Linked DNA regions of Homo sapiens: regions 1, 2 and 3 are each linked to region 4. Evidence: promoter capture Hi-C in 16 types of primary human blood cells and fetal thymus (Javierre and others, 2016). All regions are on one chromosome and are shown on one strand. The core of a region is centred on a gene start or on the middle of the fragment in contact, and the rest is flanking DNA. Distances in the headings are between cores, read along the strand shown.

What was found. Contacts are between HindIII fragments. The CHiCAGO score rates a contact against its expected background, and 5 or more counts as called.
Region 1: a fragment that was not itself captured here is called in contact with the fragment with the promoter of FGF18 in region 4 in 1 of 17 cell types (endothelial precursors); the score reaches 6.9 in endothelial precursors.
Region 2: a fragment that was not itself captured here is called in contact with the fragment with the promoter of FGF18 in region 4 in 1 of 17 cell types (endothelial precursors); the score reaches 5.1 in endothelial precursors.
Region 3: a contact is called between a fragment that was not itself captured here and the fragment with the promoter of FGF18 in region 4, in 1 of 17 cell types (endothelial precursors). The highest score is 5.5, in endothelial precursors.

The regions. Positions count from the first base shown.
Region 1 is chr5:171,619,015-171,621,714 of GRCh38, forward strand. No RefSeq gene overlaps it. Among named protein-coding and RNA genes, the nearest start is that of SMIM23, 170 kb to the right of the region's middle. RefSeq lists an enhancer at 1-372. The HindIII fragment of the contact is 5,155 bases long and covers 1-2,700 here.
Region 2 is chr5:171,588,357-171,591,056 of GRCh38, forward strand. No RefSeq gene overlaps it. Among named protein-coding and RNA genes, the nearest start is that of FGF18, 170 kb to the left of the region's middle. The HindIII fragment of the contact is 1,307 bases long and covers 711-2,017 here.
Region 3 is chr5:171,642,337-171,645,036 of GRCh38, forward strand. No RefSeq gene overlaps it. Among named protein-coding and RNA genes, the nearest start is that of SMIM23, 140 kb to the right of the region's middle. RefSeq lists enhancers at 1,943-2,444, 2,445-2,700. The HindIII fragment of the contact is 486 bases long and covers 1,162-1,647 here.
Region 4 is chr5:171,418,332-171,421,031 of GRCh38, forward strand. FGF18 (fibroblast growth factor 18) reads left to right here and starts at 1,316. Exons shown (of 5, transcript NM_003862.3): 1 at 1,316-1,900; 2 at 2,076-2,112. The coding sequence starts at 1,869. RefSeq lists silencers at 1,153-1,262, 1,383-1,492, 1,633-1,682, 1,743-1,822. The HindIII fragment of the contact is 2,658 bases long and covers 1-2,538 here.

The DNA of each region.
Region 1 (2,700 bases), core at 129-2,628, 200 kb after region 4:
CACAACTACAGCTGTCCATTATTGAGCACCTACTGCATACTTGGCACTTGATAGGTGCTCCATGTGGGCTCCCCTTAATGGGCTCTGTTTTGTATGTGCTGTGACCCTAGTTGTACAGATGAAAAATTGGAGACACAGAAAAGTGATGGTTTGTGAAAGTCACACGACCAGTTAAGAGCCTAAGCTGGGACTCTTTCCACTGCCTCAGCTATTTCTCTCTGTCCTCCACCCCCAGCCCCAGGGAGGGTGTTAATGAGGCCTGCACAGGAGAGAGGCAGGGGTGAGGAGCTGTGCCCGCAGGTGCCTGCAGGTCTTCCTGCAGTGGCCAGCCCAGGGCCTGGCGCCACTCCTCCCCTGCCTGTCTGCTCTCCCCAGCATGTGATGGTGGCTGATACCCCCTGGGGTGGGGTGGGGGGGCCCTGCACGAGTCTGGGCCCTGCCACGACGCCACCCTGGAGACCCAGAGTCTGTCTCCCAAGAACTGCAGTCCTTCCCATTCTGGGATCCCTGGGCGGGGTAGGTGGGGCTTGGGGAATACTCAGAACTGGCTCAAAGGACTGGGAAGCTCCTCGAGGGCCCCAGTGGGTTGGGGGGGAAACGTAAGCTGCAAGACCTCAGAGGCCTGGTATTCTATTGTCTTTTTCTGTCTTTGTGCCCAGCTGGTCCTTTCACTCTTTTCCTCTCTGTCTCTGGGTGGCTCAGGGGTCATAGTTTGTGATGTGTTGGCTAAAGTAAGAATGAGAAGCCAAGAGATCCCATTTTAGCCTCACTTATGCTGGGTGACCCTAGGGTGTTCTTCCCCCTCTCTGGGCCTCCAGCTGCTGGGCCACAGCTTAGAGCCCCTCAGGGCCCTTAGGCCCTGATGCCCAGGCCATCCCAGGGCAGTGAAGAGCTCAGAAGACAATGTTTGACTGTTTTCTTCATACAAGGAACATTTGAGAAGCACTTCCTGGCTCTCGATGGAAAGAGATTTAAAGAGGAAAATAAAGCAAGCATGGAAGTACCTCTTATTGACAAGCCCAGGCCTTGTTAGCTTAGCGTCTGCTCCTGCTCTGCTTCTGTCCCTCTCTGTGACTTGGGAGCCATTTCTCAAGCCCCCAGCCCTTTCCCTCACGATCTTCCTCTTCAAGTTCCTGCTCAGGAAAGTGTGCTTCGAAATGTGGGCACAGGGGAGAGTCAAAGTGAGAAGGTTGGCAAAGATCCATAGGAAGACCCCAGAAAGTGGCCAAGCTCCTACAAAAACATCTCACCACCACCGCTGCCACCATCTCGTCCATCACCGCTATCACCACCATCATCACCACTTCCAGCATTATCACCACTACCTCCGCCATCTCCTATGTATTACTACTATTGTCAATAGTAGTATATAATAAAAGCAACAACGAATTCTGTTGAATGCTTACCCAATGATATGCATCATACTAACTTAAATACTCTGTCCGGCTGGGCGCGGTGGCTCAAGCATGTAATCCCAGCATTTTGGGAGGCTGAGGTGGGCAGATCTTTTGAGGGCAGTTCAAAACCAGCCTGGCCAACATGGTGAAACCCTGTCTCTACTAAAAATACAGAAAATTAGCTGGCCGTGGTGGTGGGCACCTGTAATCCCAGCTACTTGGGAGGCTGAGGCAGAATTGCTTGAGCCTGGGTGGTGGAGGTTGCAGTGAGCAGGTATTGCGCCATTGCACTCCGGCCTGGGCAACAGAGCAAGACTCCGTCTCAGTAAAAAAAAAAATCTGTCCAAGTCACACATGTAGTGCCTTAGTCTGGGTTCTCCAGAAGGCAACCTTGAAACAAGGACGCAAATGCAAGTAATTTATTTGGGAGATGAAATAACAAAGTGGTATGATATCAAGCAAGTGACAACTGTGGAAAAATGGAGCTTAATCTTGCTGGGAACTCCAGGCACCAGTAAAGAACACCCACCTCAGAGTCATCCCCCCCAAGGACAACGAAGCTGGGGTATTTATACACCAACTCTGGCTAGCCGTTGTTTGGGGGCTGCCTCCAAGGGGTATTAATGCCCCATCACCTCCAGCCTTCTACACATAGAGACAGACAAGGGTCAGCTGCAGAGGAAGCCCTCAGGCAAAAAGATTTAGGTTCTGGTAGTTGGAACTCAGACCTATGTGCATGGAGATGGTAAGGACTGGGAGGATGTGGGAAGAAAAATGAAGTATCTGCTACTGGTAGTATGTGGTGACATAAGGATTCGAATCCTGGTCTTTTTTATTTTGGTGTCTATGAACAGATCAGCATATGGCTGGCTGGCTGAATGGATGAACAAACAGATAGGCAGATGGGTAGATATATGAACAGATGGAAGGTGGACGAGCAGATGATTGGACAGGTAGGTGTTCAAAAAATGGATGGTTAGATGGATGAGCAGTGGATGAATGGATGGATGTCTGAGTGGGTAGGTGGATGGACAAATATAAAATGAATGAGTAAATAGATGGAGAATGAGTAAGTCAGTGGAAGGATGGATGGATGGCTGAAAATTTTAGGGGATGGGTAAATGGGTAGATTGTTTAAGAATTGTATCTGTGACTGGATGGCTGGATAGAAAGATGAGTAGACAGAGGAGAGGTAAGTATACAGGAAGTAGGATGGGCAGGAAGTGGGTTGGAGGATGGATGATCAGGTTTGGAATCAGAGAAGGGCCATGGCTAAGTAAAACAGTGCCTCAACAGTGATCTT
Region 2 (2,700 bases), core at 114-2,613, 170 kb after region 4:
TTCTCCCTTTTCTGTGGTATGAAGATGCAAAGTTTTAGAAGGAGGTTCCCTCTGGCTGTCATATACTTGCCTCCTACCATACCAGGCCTACAAAATAAAGGATATAGTCCGTTGGCTTTCTTAATGGTTAGCCAGCCCCTGGGTTTCCACCAAGACTCCATGCAAAGGGGGAGTGGTGATTCTCTGAGGGATTTAGGGTACTCATACAGAGGATAAATAAATGTTTGGTAGCCCCAAGTTACCTATAGTTCATTACAACTTTTGAGTCCTAATGGTCAAACTAGGAGCTCCCACAGCCTTCCTGGCAATGGTTCTCCTTTGGAATTCTGGGTACTATGTGATCTCTGATGCTAACACAAAAAAACAGCTTTTTGCACATATCTAGGTGTGTGGCTTTTTTTTTTTAACCTGGTGTTTGAGTTGCTCCCTAAGGTATTTTCTGATGACATCCTTGCCCCCTCTCAGGTATTATATTTGCGGGTGTGGTGGTGGTGAGGGTATGGCCACCCAGGAACTGGTGCTAGAGGCAGGATTTGGACCCAGGCTTAGCTGGCTCCAAAGCCAGTGCTCTTTCCACTACAATCCTCAGCCTTCAGAAAACCAGCCCTGCCCCGATCCTTAAGAGGTGGGTCTTCATAGTCTCAGCGATAAGCAGGTGCGGGTAACCCCAGGAACACACTCTGACGGTCTCTACTATGTCTTTAGGCACAAGCTTCACAGCCAAGGCCTCGGGGTCTTCGCTTATGAAACAGGCATGAAAATCTTCCCTTTGGCACCTCTCAGTGTCAAGGTGAGAATATAGCAATTTGATGTCTGTTGAGAATCTTTCGGCAGGTCAAAGCTCAGAATTGTCATGGCTCCCCTGAGCTCAGAGGCTGCAAATAGTTGAGTAAGATGAGGCTCATGTAGGAGGCAGCAAACCTGTACTTAGTGGACAGGAAGGGGAGGTGTGCCTGGCTTTGTCCTCTTTGTTAGTGGAGAGGGGGGTAGGGGCAGTCACAAGGCAGAGGAACCCCCTTCCCTGTGGAATCTGGTTAGGGTGCTTGCACAGGGAAGAGACGGTCCTTTCTTTGTGAGAAGCAGAGGTAGGAGGGAGCTGCTTAGGGTGTCTTCTTAGTGCAAGGAGAGTTTCATCTTAAGGACCATTCCTTTCACCAATCCCCAAACGTCAGTTTGCTGATTAAATCACACGAGCGAGCATGCGTGTACACACACGTGTGCATGTGGCAGGGCAGCAGGTGGATGTAGGGGTAGGACTGACTCAATACGCATGGAAATCAGACATGCCTTTGAGCAGGTCTGCTGAACTGGGCGTACGGACCCACCAGACATGACGTACAGGAGCGATGAGGAGTTTCCTGGAGAGAATAAGAACTTAAGAAGGAGTTGGGCATAGAGGGCTGACCTGGGAGGTCCCAAGAAGGGCACAGGTATGACTCCTTGGATTTGTCCCCAGCCCAAGTCCGTGGCTTCATATCTGGGTTCAGCAACAAGCTAGCAGCAGGCTGTGTGGGTAGAATGGGAAGTTCTGTAATACACTGGGCCCAGGAAGCCCTGCTGTAGGACTCAAAGAGGGAGAGGGCCATTCTCCCCATTGTTGCCATGAAATCTCCATGAAAGTTTGGCATCCGCAAGGTTTCAGTGCAGCTGCCATAGGAGACAGGGGTGCAGCCAGGGCGCTGTGGAGGAGACGTGTTCACAGGCACAGAAGGATGGTCCTGGGGATCTTTGGGTAGGAATGGTTTATTTTACTAGATGCCCTGGGGGGACTCATTTTCTACTGACTATGTACGATGTGCCAGACGTTTTCTCTCACATTGCCTTCTCTGTGACACTTTCTCTAACCTTCCTACTTCCCTTTTTTCTCTTCTCCTCTTCTGAATTTATACCCATCCTTCATCTGTCCATCCATTCATCCATCTATCCATCCATCCATCCACCCATCCACCCTCTCAGCAAAAGAGAAACACTTAGTGGTGATATGTCATAGTTTATTAACCACTTCCCTATTGAGGGAAGCTTAAGTTATTTCTAGTTTATGCTTTTATAAACAATAGTGCAATGAAAATCCTTGTGCATGACTTGGAAAGTATTTATCGAGCACCTACTTTATACCAGATTTGTCCTATGTTCCTTTGTAGTATTAATTAAATTTTTAATAAGCATGTCTTGACTTCCCAACCTTTGTGAACCAGCGGAGCGTTAGGACTTTGCCTTTGCAGGCCCCATAACTCACTGTCCCTACTAGGTGCTTAATAAACATTGAATGAATAAATGGATCAATGAATAAAAATAATGAGCCACCCATGGAGCCAAAATATGAGCCTCAACGGGGCACTACAGCTTGACTCCTACCAATGAACTCATTCCCACCCTAGCTGTCTGTGGTGTCTGCTTTCAGTATTTGAAGGCTTTTCTGTTTTTCAAAGCTTTGGTATCTGCTCCTCTCTGCACTTTAGTCTCTGTATCCAGCTTCATCAAAGGCTGGGAAGTTAGAAAGGGGAACAAGGAGGGGAATAAATGAAGTGGAGGCCCTCAGCCATGAGCACATAGGAGCAGAGTTCAAGCATCTTCAAATCGTCCTCCCACGTAGCTCTAGGCTGCAGCCCCATTAAAGAGCTGCCCATCTAGCCACCAGCTCTGCGTGTGCTCACCTTCTTGCCTTTGCTGGTGCTGTTCTCTTGGCGTGGAATGCTCTTC
Region 3 (2,700 bases), core at 155-2,654, 220 kb after region 4:
AGGACTCAGCAGAAGTCTGCCCCAGGCTTGGAGGAGAAGACCAGGCCAGAAAACAAGGCCAGGAAAGGCAGGGCAAAGGGTTTTTTAGCAGGTAAGTAGGCTGTGTCCCTCATCGCCATGGGTAATCTGGAAGCAAACTAATTTGAGTCATTTTGAGAGACTCTTCCTTAACTTACATGCCCACATTATAGTGACTATTAACTGCAGTAAGTTAGGTTATGCTGCAGTAACAGATACTCCCAAATCTCAGTGGCTCTCACAGAAAGCTTGCATTTTCACCATGCAGAGTGTGTTCTGGGTCTAGGCCAGAGAACAGGGCAACTGTTCTCTATGCAACAGCTCCACAATCCCGGTGGAAGGACATTCCACCATCTTCTACATCATCATCTGGAACAGGAAGTCTTCTCAGTCAATGCCAAAGACGAAGAGAGAGAAAGAGGGGGTTCTCAAGCCAGCAATTAAATGCTTTTGAAGTGACATTTGTAACTTCTGCTCACACCCATTGGTCAAAGCAAGTCCCCTGGCCCTGCTGAGCCAAGCAGGCTGGAGATGCAGACTTTCCCGCACCTGGACAGAGAGACAAGCAAGCCATTCGTGAGCACTAGTAATGTCTCTTACAGGGTCTATGGAATGGTTGCTGTTTTTTAAATTCAGAATTGTTTAAAATCCAACTTCTTTCCTTTTCTGACGTTGAATCCTGCAGCAATTATTATCTCCATTTGGCGGATGTGGAAACTGGGGTCAAAGGTCAAATAAATGATGTCTGCAACTGACAAAACAAGATTAGACTTTTAAAAAATTACCTGCAGTGTCACTCTGAAAACCTCTCCTCTCTATAGTCTCCCACTCAGGTGATGATACCCACATCCATAGTAAGGCACGGAAACATGGGTTCTAGCCTCTGCCCTCATGCCAATCAACCGAGGACCCCTGGAAAAGTCACTTTACCTTTCCAAGGCTCAGTCTACCTGCCTGCAAAATGGCAGTAGAAACTACCCCATCCTCCTGGTCTCCAAGAGTTAGCTAAGGATGAGATGAAACACTAGGTATGAGGTAAATGAAACTTGGATAAAATTCCTGATGTTGCTATTATCTGTGAGAGGGGAGGAAATACTCTTGGGTGCAGTAATGAATGAGCTTTACTCAAAGGAGATCTTCAAAAGCTTATTTCTGGCGCTCAGAAATTACCCGCAGAATTTCCAGACTGCCATGTGGAGTGCTTTGACACTCGACTTTCAACTCTAGCCTGTCTTTGTGGCCTTAGGCAAGTCACTTCACCTCTCTGACCTGCAGGCTATTCATCTGTATGACGGGTTGCCTATCCTCCTGGCAGGGGTGCTGGGAGGGCCCGAGCCAAGGCTGAGGGGTCCCCTGGAATTCAGAAGGCACTAAGCAAAAACTAGTTGCCCTTTTCCCGAGGATCTTGTAAGAGAACCTTGCCAGAGATTTGGGATCCGGAATTTTTTTCCCTTCAAAGGAATGGCAATAAGGAAATGTGTGTGAGCATGTGAGAGGGAGGGTGCATATGAGTGTGTGTGTGTGTGTTTGTGTGTGTGTATGTGTGTGTGTGTAGGGGGAGAGGACTGTGGAGAAATAAAGAAATGGTGGGGAATAAACAACAGAACATTTTAGTGACTTGCAGATGAAAGCTTCTTTTAGCAGAATTCATTAGCTTTCTGCACACCAGTTTAGCTGTGTTTGGAAAAATACTTAACTTGCTATAGGATGCCAAGTCATGAATGTGTCAGAGAGAGAGAGAAAATTTTTTTTTAGAAATTCGTCTGTCCCTCTCCTAAGAGCAAAGGGTCTATTGAAACGCAGTGGTTGATGCTTGTTGGTGACATTCTCTTTATTTATTCTTTGTGTGAGAATGTGGGAAGGAAGTCAGGAGTGAAAGGTTTTTGCATGTTATTCTGAGAGATGGAGGGAGAGGGGGCAAAGAAGAAAGAATAATGGGTGGGAAAAGGAGAGAAAACTGTGAGGGGGAAAGGAAAGGACAGAGAGGGCTTGAAAAGGAGCAATAGTGAAAGAGATGGAGGCGAGGAGAGACAGAGAAAGAAGGGGAGGGAAAGGGAGTGAGTCCGGAGGGCAGAGCTGAGAGCTGGGAGACAGGCAGGGGAGAAGACAAAGAAAGAGAAGGAAAGAGGAGTCAGAAGAGACAAGCAGACAGACAGACAGCCCACTAGGACAGACGAGAGAAGGGCCGGGAGATGGGGAGGTGGGGCGGGACTGGGAGAGCGGGACCCACTGTCCCCTCCCATCTTGAACCTGCCTTGGTGTATGTCAACCTTGACGCCTCTCTCAGGGCCTGCCTACCCAACCAGCTGCATCTGCAATGTTTAAAGTGCCCGTTTCTCACATGGAGCCTGACGATGGAGCCGAGCCAGCCTGCATTTGACAACCAGATGCTGAGCTCACACAAAGGCATCCTCCGCCCTGGCTGCTGGCGGGGAGATGAGCAGGACTTTGCAGAGCACCAGTCCACCCTCCGTGCCTGAAAACCCAGGGCAGGCCCTGCCACAGCTTCAGCCACCAAGAAGGGACCAGGGTTTTGGAATCAGACAGAGCTGAGTTTGAATCATACACAGCCCATCCCTTCCCGGTGGCTCTGTGCATGTGGTCCTGAGCCTTGGTTTCCCCATCTGTGAGATGGGGCTAGTAAGAAAATGGATGGTGAGAGGATTCCTAAGGAAAGAAGCA
Region 4 (2,700 bases), core at 66-2,565:
AAATAGCTTGCAAGGAGGCCTGATATTTGGAACAATTACTAATGTTTTATAGTCATGGCTTCAGCAAATAGCACTGTTCGACAGTCCTACCTCAGTTTATGCTCCAGTGGACCATCAACCATTGCCAACGCAAGGAGGCTTTAACCAAATAGTCCAGATTCCTGAGTTTTGCTTGAGCCTGTCCTCCAGCGTCTTTCTCACTGTGACCTATTTTCCTTAGCATCAGGCTCAAGCAGAGCTTGGCTGACACCAGCTCTAGACAGTGAGGCAGGTACGTGACAAGAACACCTACGTTTTGGGGTTGGTGGGAAGGACAGGAGTTATGCCTCTGGAAGGGGCAGAGGCGGTAAGAACCAGTGTCCTGAATGGGGCCCTGGTTAAAGGAACGAAGCTGCCTAGTATGCAAACGGAGGCAAGTCTTAGTCCGGTTTTGGGAGGAGGCCGGAAGAGGGCCTCAGCGTGGTCGCTGACCAGAGTCCTGCTGGCTGCTCCCCGGCGTGCAGCCGTCCGTGCTGGGGTTGCAGTGACGTCTCGGGGCCGCTTGGTGGTAGCCGTGTGTTTCCAAAGCTGGCTCGCCTACGGGAGAGTCCAGCTGGGATCCCGTGAACCGACCCCAGAGCCCCGGAGGGGGCGAGGGGTGGGAAGGAGAGATGCCCGGGAGCCCCCTTCGCAGCGGCAGGGACGTAAGAAGAGGACGGGGGCTCACTTAAGTGGGTAGCCAGTCAAGAGGGTGGCTGGGAAACTCCACGATCGCAGGGCGGGTAAAAGCGACCCCCATTCAGTGGAGCCGCCCCGGGGCTGGGTTTGACCCGCCCCTCTCGGCTCTCCACTAGAGCGCTGGTGAGTGAGTGCGAGTAGCGAATGTGGGCAGGTGAGGACGTTCCGTACCTAACTGCGTTCTTGGGGAGCATCGCCTGCCCAATTTGGGCAACGTTTGCGCGGAGGAGCGGTCACTGCGCTCGGGCGCAGAGCTCCGACGGCTTCCAGCGCTCACCAGCTTCAGTCTCGCGGGTCCTGCCCCTTTGGAGCTGCCGGTCCCGTCTCCGAGAGTCTGAGCGCCTCCCCTCCAACCCCGAGCCGCCAGGAGAAGGAGGAGGAGGCAGCGAGAGGCCGCGGCAGGCAGGCGAGCAGGCAGGGCCGCCTTTGATGTGGGCTGGGCGCACCCAGGCGAGCTGAGCGCCCGTCCGGCCGCGCCCCGAGGGGGGAGCCCCCAGGCCCCGCATCCTCATTGTGCCGGCTCGGGCCCGGGCCCGCCCCCGGCCCCCCGCCCCCTCGCCGCCCGCGCGTAGAAAACGCCCCGGCCGCCGCCAGTGGTGGGAGGCGGCGATGCGCACGGCCGGAGAGACGCGGAGGAGGAGACATGAGCCGGCGGGCGCCCAGACGGAGCGGCCGTGACGCTTTCGCGCTGCAGCCGCGCGCCCCGACCCCGGAGCGCTGACCCCTGGCCCCACGCAGCTCCGCGCCCGGGCCGGAGAGCGCAACTCGGCTTCCAGACCCGCCGCGCATGCTGTCCCCGGACTGAGCCGGGCAGCCAGCCTCCCACGGACGCCCGGACGGCCGGCCGGCCAGCAGTGAGCGAGCTTCCCCGCACCGGCCAGGCGCCTCCTGCACAGCGGCTGCCGCCCCGCAGCCCCTGCGCCAGCCCGGAGGGCGCAGCGCTCGGGAGGAGCCGCGCGGGGCGCTGATGCCGCAGGGCGCGCCGCGGAGCGCCCCGGAGCAGCAGAGTCTGCAGCAGCAGCAGCCGGCGAGGAGGGAGCAGCAGCAGCGGCGGCGGCGGCGGCGGCGGCGGCGGAGGCGCCCGGTCCCGGCCGCGCGGAGCGGACATGTGCAGGCTGGGCTAGGAGCCGCCGCCTCCCTCCCGCCCAGCGATGTATTCAGCGCCCTCCGCCTGCACTTGCCTGTAAGCGCCCGCGCGCGGGGCTGCCCACCTTGCCTGGCTGTCTGTCCGTATGCCTGTGCCCTGTACCTCTGTCTGCCCGCCCGTCGGTTCACCTGACTCTTCGACTGCGTGTCTGTCTGTCCGTGCGCCCCCTTCCTCAGGTCCCACTGACCGCTTCTCCATCTGTTTCCCGCAGGTGTTTACACTTCCTGCTGCTGTGCTTCCAGGTACAGGTACGTGGGCTCCTGACTTTGACCTCCTCCCGCCCCTGCCTCGCGGTACACGCCGACCCCCCTTCCCCGGCCGCGCCCCCTCCCTGTGCCCCACCCCTCCTGGGCGCTGAGCCCAGTGCACCTGTTCCCAGGGCGCGGAAGGGCGGCTCCGCGTGCGCCCTGCGCCGGCGGGGAACCGGCCAAGGGCAAGGGGCTCTGCCGCGGGGCCCGAGGAGGCGCTGGCTGTCGCGGCCACTGTCGGCCTCGGCTGGGAGGAGATCCCGCAGAGCCGGCGGGCTCAGCCGCAACAATATACCCAGCTCTAAGACCCCTGCCCGCAGCCAGCGAGGGGTAGGACCTAGGGATTTTCTCTGCCAACCTTCCCTTAACATCGCCGCTTCCAAACAAAAAGACTTTCAGCCGAGTGGATTTCGAGTCCAGGGAGAAAGCTTCAGTTGTAAATTACTCTGTGGTTTTGAAGGCGCTTGCAGCACTGAGACACACACACAGACACACACACATGCCCGGGACGAGGGGAAGCTCGAGGGCGCCTAGGCCGAGTGGCCGCTGCCCGCGAGGCCGCTCCCGGATGGGCCGCGCTCCGCACTC